Linked DNA regions of Homo sapiens: region 1 is linked to region 2. The links are contacts of gene promoters, found by promoter capture Hi-C in blood cells and fetal thymus (Javierre and others, 2016). All regions are on one chromosome and are shown on one strand. Each heading gives the region's core, a stretch centred on a gene start or on the middle of the fragment in contact. The rest is flanking DNA. Distances are from core to core; before and after follow the strand shown.

Region 1 (2,955 bases), core at 135-2,634, 250 kb before region 2:
ATGAGTGGGCTGATTAGATAACTTGGATTATGAAAGTGCTAAAACATCCTGGCACTTGGCCATCAGAGTATAGTGGTGTTGGGGGTTAATGTGTTCTGCAAACTCACCCAGTCTCCAGTTCTGAAGCTCTGGACCCCCTTCCCCACCCTGCCTGATGCCAAAGGGCTCCTTTTTCCTTTGATAAGAGCCTCCCTGGCAGTAGGTAACAGGAGCCCAGGGGCATGCATGAAAGGTCTTAGCTAGGTCTCTGTGACCTTAGGTTACTTCCCCCCTTGAGGACTCAGTCTCATGACCTGGGGTAGTGTCAACCTCACTGGGGTTTTGCTGCTTTCACATCAAATCCCAGCCCCTGCCAGGCGCTCTGGTTTCACACCTGTAATCCCAGCACTTGAGGATGCTGAGGCAGAAGGATCCCTTGAGCTCAGGAGTTTGTGGCTGCAGTGAGCTCTGATCACACCACTACACCCCAACCCGGGTTACAGAGTGAGACCCTGTCTCCCAAAAAAGAAAAGCAGCCACATAGGAGAATCCAGACACTGGTTCTGCACCCCTGGTGCCACCTTTGGGGAGCAGAAAGGGAGGCTCAGGGCATATTTACTATCCTCTGCAAACTGAATTTGCAGCTGGGAAAGTTTGTTTCTTCCAGAGCTGTGCTCACCTGGGTGTCGGGCTGGCCCGAGCTCAGGTGGGCATGTAGCAGAGCGGCCACCTCATCCTGCTCAGCCTCCAGGGCGATGGCCAGGGCACTGGTGCCCTCCTGTGGAACGTTAGGGACAGTCAGATCCCTGAGCCAAGCCATGGGCACCCCCCAAGATGCCAGCCCCATTGTGGGGTCTTACATTGTCCAGGATGGCAGGGTCACAGCCTGGCTGGGTGAGCAGCAGCCGCACGGTGTCCAGGCGCCCATACTCACTGGCACACATCAGCGCTGTGGCCCCATCCGCATCCTGCGCATTCACATCAGCCCCACACGCCAGTAGGGTTGCCACCATGTCCTGTCGGCCATGGCTGATGGCCAGCATGAGGGCTGTCTGCCCCGTCTGGGGAGTGGGGAGGAAGAGGGAACAGGCTGGGGTAGGCTCAGGGAAGGGAGGTCACAGGTTGACTCCCAAAGTGGAAGTGACTCCTGGCTGAGAGCCACAGTGGGGGCGCCCACGCACCTGACTGGCCTTGGCATTGACATCACCCATGCAGAAGAGTCTCTGGACCACAGCCATGTCCTCCTCTTCCTGCCTCACAGAGGTGAGTGCAGCCAGCATGAGGGCCGAGTAGCCGGCTCGGTTCTGGCGGTTGACCTCGCAGGCCCCTGGGAGAGAAAAGGGGGCCGTCCACGGAGATGCCAACACCGCGGCCCGACTTGATCCACTCACCTCCCTGCAAGCCTCGGGCACAGCACCTGCATATGGGGTGGTCTCAACGTTCTCCCCACAATAGCTACCTGGTTCCTCCCTCACTAAGGTGTTGCTCAAATACCATCTGCTCAGTGAAGGACCTTCCTGTTTCATCTTTTTTTTTTTTTTTTTTTTTTTTTTGAGACATAGTCTCGCTCTGTCACCCAGGCTGGAGTGCAGTGGTGCGATCTCAGCTCACTGCAATCTCCACCTCCGGAGTAGCTGGAACTACAGCATGTGCCATCACACCCAGCTAATTTTTGTATTATTTAGTAGAGACAGGGTTTCACCATGTTGGCCAGGCTAGTCTCGAACTCCTGACCTCAAGTGATCCACCCACCGTAGCCTCCCAAAGTGCTGGAATTAGAGGCATGAGCCACTGGCCCAGTGGCTATTTCAAATCAAGTCCCTGTTTCAAATCAGGCAGGGACTTGGTTTTGTTTGCTTCTGTATCCCTCAGTACTTAGAACAATACTTGGCACATAGTAGATGCTCAGTTAAACATTTGTTGACTGAATAATAAAAGGATATGTTTATTTTCATGGCCACCACCCGCCAAGCCACCATCATTGCTCCCCTAAAGAACAGTGCCAGCCTCCACCCTTCTCTCTGAATCCACTCCAGGTTCCACACAGCAGCCAGGAGCAACTATTTATTTATTTAGAGATGGAGTCTCATTCTGTCGCCCAGGCTGGAGTGCAGTGGCACGATCTCAGCTCACTGCAACCTCTGCCTCCCAGGTTTAAGCGATTCTTCTGCCTTGGCCACTTGAGTAGCTGGGATTACAGGCATGCACCACCACGCCCAGCTAATTTTTGTATTTTTAGTAGAGACGGTTTCACCATGTTGGTCAGGCTGGTCTCGAACTCCGACCTCATGATTCGCTTGCCTCAGCTTCCCAAAGTGCTGGGATTACAGGTGTGAGCCACCGCGCCTGGCCAAGAGCAACAATTCAAAATGAATTTGGTTGCCAGGACACTGGCTCACGTCTGTAATCCCAGCACTTTGAGAGGCCGAGGTGGTTGATCACTTGAGGTCAGGAGTTCGAGACCAGCCTGGCCAATGTGGTGAACCCCATCTCTACTAAAAACACAAAAAATAGCCAGGCGTGGTGGCAGGCACCTGTAATCTCAGCTACTCAGGAGGCTGAGGCAGGATAATCACTTGAACCTGGGAGCTGCAGTGAGCCAAGATCACGCCACTGCACTCCAGCCTGGGTAACACAGTGAGACCCTGTCTCAAACAAACAAACAAAAACACCTGCCAACACCTTGATTTCAGACTTCTGGCCACCTGTTGTAAAAAAAAAAAAAAAAAAAAAAAAAGCCAGGTGCAGTGGCTCACGCCTTTAATCCCAGCACTTTGGGAGGCTGAGGCGGGCGGATCATGAGGTCAGGAGATTGAGATCATCCTGGCTAACTCAGTGAAACCCCGTCTCTACTAAAAATACAAAAAAAAAAAAAAAATTAGTCGGGTGTGGTGGTGGGTGCCTGTAGTCCCAGCTACTCAGGAGGCTGAGGCAGAAGAATGGCATGAACCCGGGGGACGGAGCTTGCAGTGAGCC
Region 2 (2,890 bases), core at 265-2,764:
AATTCCCACCCCAACAGTCTCAGAGCTCCAGCTGATGGTTTGGGTGTGAATTCCGGGATGCCCAATTTCTCATCAGCTTTCCTTTTTTGAGACGGAGTGTGCTCTGTCACCCAGGCTGGAGTGCAGCGGCAGGATCTCAGCTCACTGCACCCTCCGCCTCCTGGGTTCAAGTTATTCTCTTGCCTCAGCCTCATATGTAGCTGGGATTACAGGCGTGTGCCACCACGCCCAGTTAATTTTTTGTATTTTTTAGTAGAGACGAGGTTTCACCACGTTGGCCAGGCTGGTCTCGAACACCTGACCTCAAGTGATCTACCTGTCTCAGCCTCCTAAAATGCTGGGATTACAGGCATGAGCCACTGTCCCTGGCCCTCACTGGCTTCCTGAAAGAAGGTGTTGTCTCTCAGACTAACACCACCTCTGCCTCTTGCCCTATGTCCCTGACTCCACCCTAGTAAGCTGTACCTGCCAAGAATCCTGCAGTGGCCGCTGTCACAGCCACATGCTCTCATCCTCACTGACTGAATGACGAGAAATGAAAGCTGAAGTGGTCTACACAGCAGAGAGCTGTGGGGTGGGGTCAGCCCTGGCCACCTCTTACTTTGCGTCTTATGGTGGTACGATACTGCTAGGAATAGCGCCATGATCACGACAGTCTCCCCGTTGCTATCATCGACAGACCTCAGACTTGACAGGCAGCAACACCTCTGGCTGCCATCCTCCTCTTGGGATAAGGGATGCCCACCAAAGGGTGGCATGGACGTATTCAGCCTCTCCTGCCTCTGCTGCAGCCATACCGCCCGTCACCGGCACAGGGAGGGCGTCAATCCACCCCATCGCTTGTTAGACATAGCTTCCCATCTCAGCCGAGGACTCTGTGGCAGAACCCACAGACCTTGAGAATGTTGCAACTGAAAGACCCCTGAAGAGCAACTTCCGCATCTAGACGGATTTCCAAATATGACATCTGTGGGAACCGGGGCCAAGAGAGGGGAAGTGACTAGCCCAAGGCTACACAGGGAGACGAGAGACTGGGCTGGACTGGGAAAGGGCTCCCTTAATTTGCAAGCAAAGGAGGCTATGTCCTTGTCCCTGCAGACTCTGTGATTCTCCCTGGGCCACCTTCTGTCTTCCAGGTCCTGCCCTATCCTTGGATCCAGGGATACCACCCTGGCATCCCCACCACCTACAGATGGGAGCTTGCTCCCTGGTAAGGGATGCTGGAGGCACCTGAGCTGCACTGAGAGACACCCCACCCCCACAGAAGTCCACCATGCCCCTCCCCTCACCCCAATTTCTGATGGTCATTTTTAGGACACCTCCACCTGGCTGGTGTCCCTCCTCTTTCTTCTTCCAGATCCCACCCTTGAAGGACTTACCATGGTGGGGGGCTGGTGTCTGGGCTCCTGGAGGCTCCTGAATGGGTCGTGATGGAGGTGCAGGTTCAGGGGGATCTTGGGGGTGGCTTGGGCATGGCCCTGCTTCTGCCCGTTCACCGGACTCCCGGCTTTAGTTCCTCTTACAACAGCCCCTTCTCACTTCCTTTGGCGGGAGGGGCCGAGGCCATGGGGGAGGGAAGCTGGGTGTGGAGGGGGGCGGGGAGCTGGCTGTTTGGGGCTCTGAGCCTGAAGGGAGGGGTCAGAACTTGATGGCAGCCACTACTGGACCTCAGAGGCCTCTTCCCCAACTCCTTGGGGACAGGGCTGCTGCAGGAACATTTGGGTCAGCTGGCTGCAGGACGAACCACCTCTTTTCAGGGCGATTCAGGAAGCATTTGGGCTTCCCGGGTCTCTTTTTAAAACCAAGGAAGGGGCCCAGGGGAGGTGGCTCACGCCTGTAATCCCAATACTTTGGGGGGCCAAGGTTGGAGGATCGCTTGAGTCCAGGAGTTTGAGACCAGCCTGGGCTATATAGCATGACCCCATCTCTACAAAAAATGAAAAGAAAAAAAATTAGCTGGGCATGGTGGCATGAGCCTGCAGTCCCAGCTACTCAGAGGGCTGAGGTGGGAGGATTGCTTGAACCTGGGAGGTGGAGGCCTCAGTGAGCCCTGATTGCGCCACTGCACTCCAGCCTGGGCGAAAGAGTGAGACCCTGTCTCTAAAAACAAACCAGAAAAAACAAAAAAACCAAAAAAACAACAACAACAGGGAAGGGTGCCTTCTTCAGCTGTGTCTGCTCTGGGCATCCCTGGGCAACCTCCTTCATTATTATTATTGTTATTATTTTGAGACGGAGTCTAGCTCTGTCACCCAGGCTAGAATGCAGTGGTGCAATCTCAGCTTACTTTAATCTCCGCCTCCTGGGTTCAAGCGATTCTCCTGCCTCAGCCTCCTGAGTAGCTGGGATTACAGGTGCCCACCGCCACACCTGGCTAATATTTGTATTTTTAGTAGAGACGGAATTTCGCCATGTTGGCCAGGCCGGCCTTGAACTCCTGACCTCAGGTGATCCTCCCAACTCGGCCTCCCAAAGTGCTGGGATTACAGGCATAAGCCACCACGCCTGGCCCAACCTCCCTCTTTAGATGACCCTCAGAAGTCACACGTGTTTGTGTGCAGAAGTGGAGGGTACTGGGAAGCAGGTGCATCTGAAAGGTCCCTGACTTTGGATGTCACATCTAGATTTAACAGCCTCCAGTTTGGCTACTTCCTGGATGACTTAGTTACTCCCTTTTCTCATTGTAAAATGGGAACGTGGGTCCCCCCAGCAGAGCCTGGCCCAGGTACGTGTCAGCCTATGAGCTGGTCTTTGGGACACCAGCCAACCACCTGAGGCTCCTCTTGACATGTGAGGAAATGGCAGTTCTAATAGGTTGTTACTTCCCCACACCACCCAGCAAGGAGGTGGCCGAGGCAGGACCCGACCCTGGGAGACCCTGGGGGACCCA

Evidence for each region. The method cuts DNA at HindIII sites, captures the fragments that hold promoters and counts their contacts. A CHiCAGO score of 5 or more calls a contact.
Region 1: a contact is called between a fragment that was not itself captured here and the fragment with the promoter of MYO1F in region 2, in 1 of 17 cell types (neutrophils). The highest score is 5.1, in neutrophils.

What each region holds. Positions count from the first base shown.
Region 1 is chr19:8,323,791-8,326,745 of GRCh38, forward strand. It overlaps KANK3 (KN motif and ankyrin repeat domains 3), which reads right to left. Exons shown (of 11, transcript NM_198471.3): 8 at 1,161-1,306; 9 at 840-1,040; 10 at 659-757. Among named protein-coding and RNA genes, the nearest start is that of RPS28, 3.8 kb to the left of the region's middle. The HindIII fragment of the contact is 3,860 bases long and covers 1-2,955 here.
Region 2 is chr19:8,575,928-8,578,817 of GRCh38, forward strand. MYO1F (myosin IF) reads right to left here and starts at 1,515. Exons shown (of 28, transcript NM_012335.4): 1 at 1,380-1,515. The coding sequence starts at 1,382. RefSeq lists enhancers at 1-19, 360-419, 590-769 and silencers at 890-939, 1,477-1,626, 2,847-2,890. The HindIII fragment of the contact is 24,150 bases long and covers 1-2,890 here.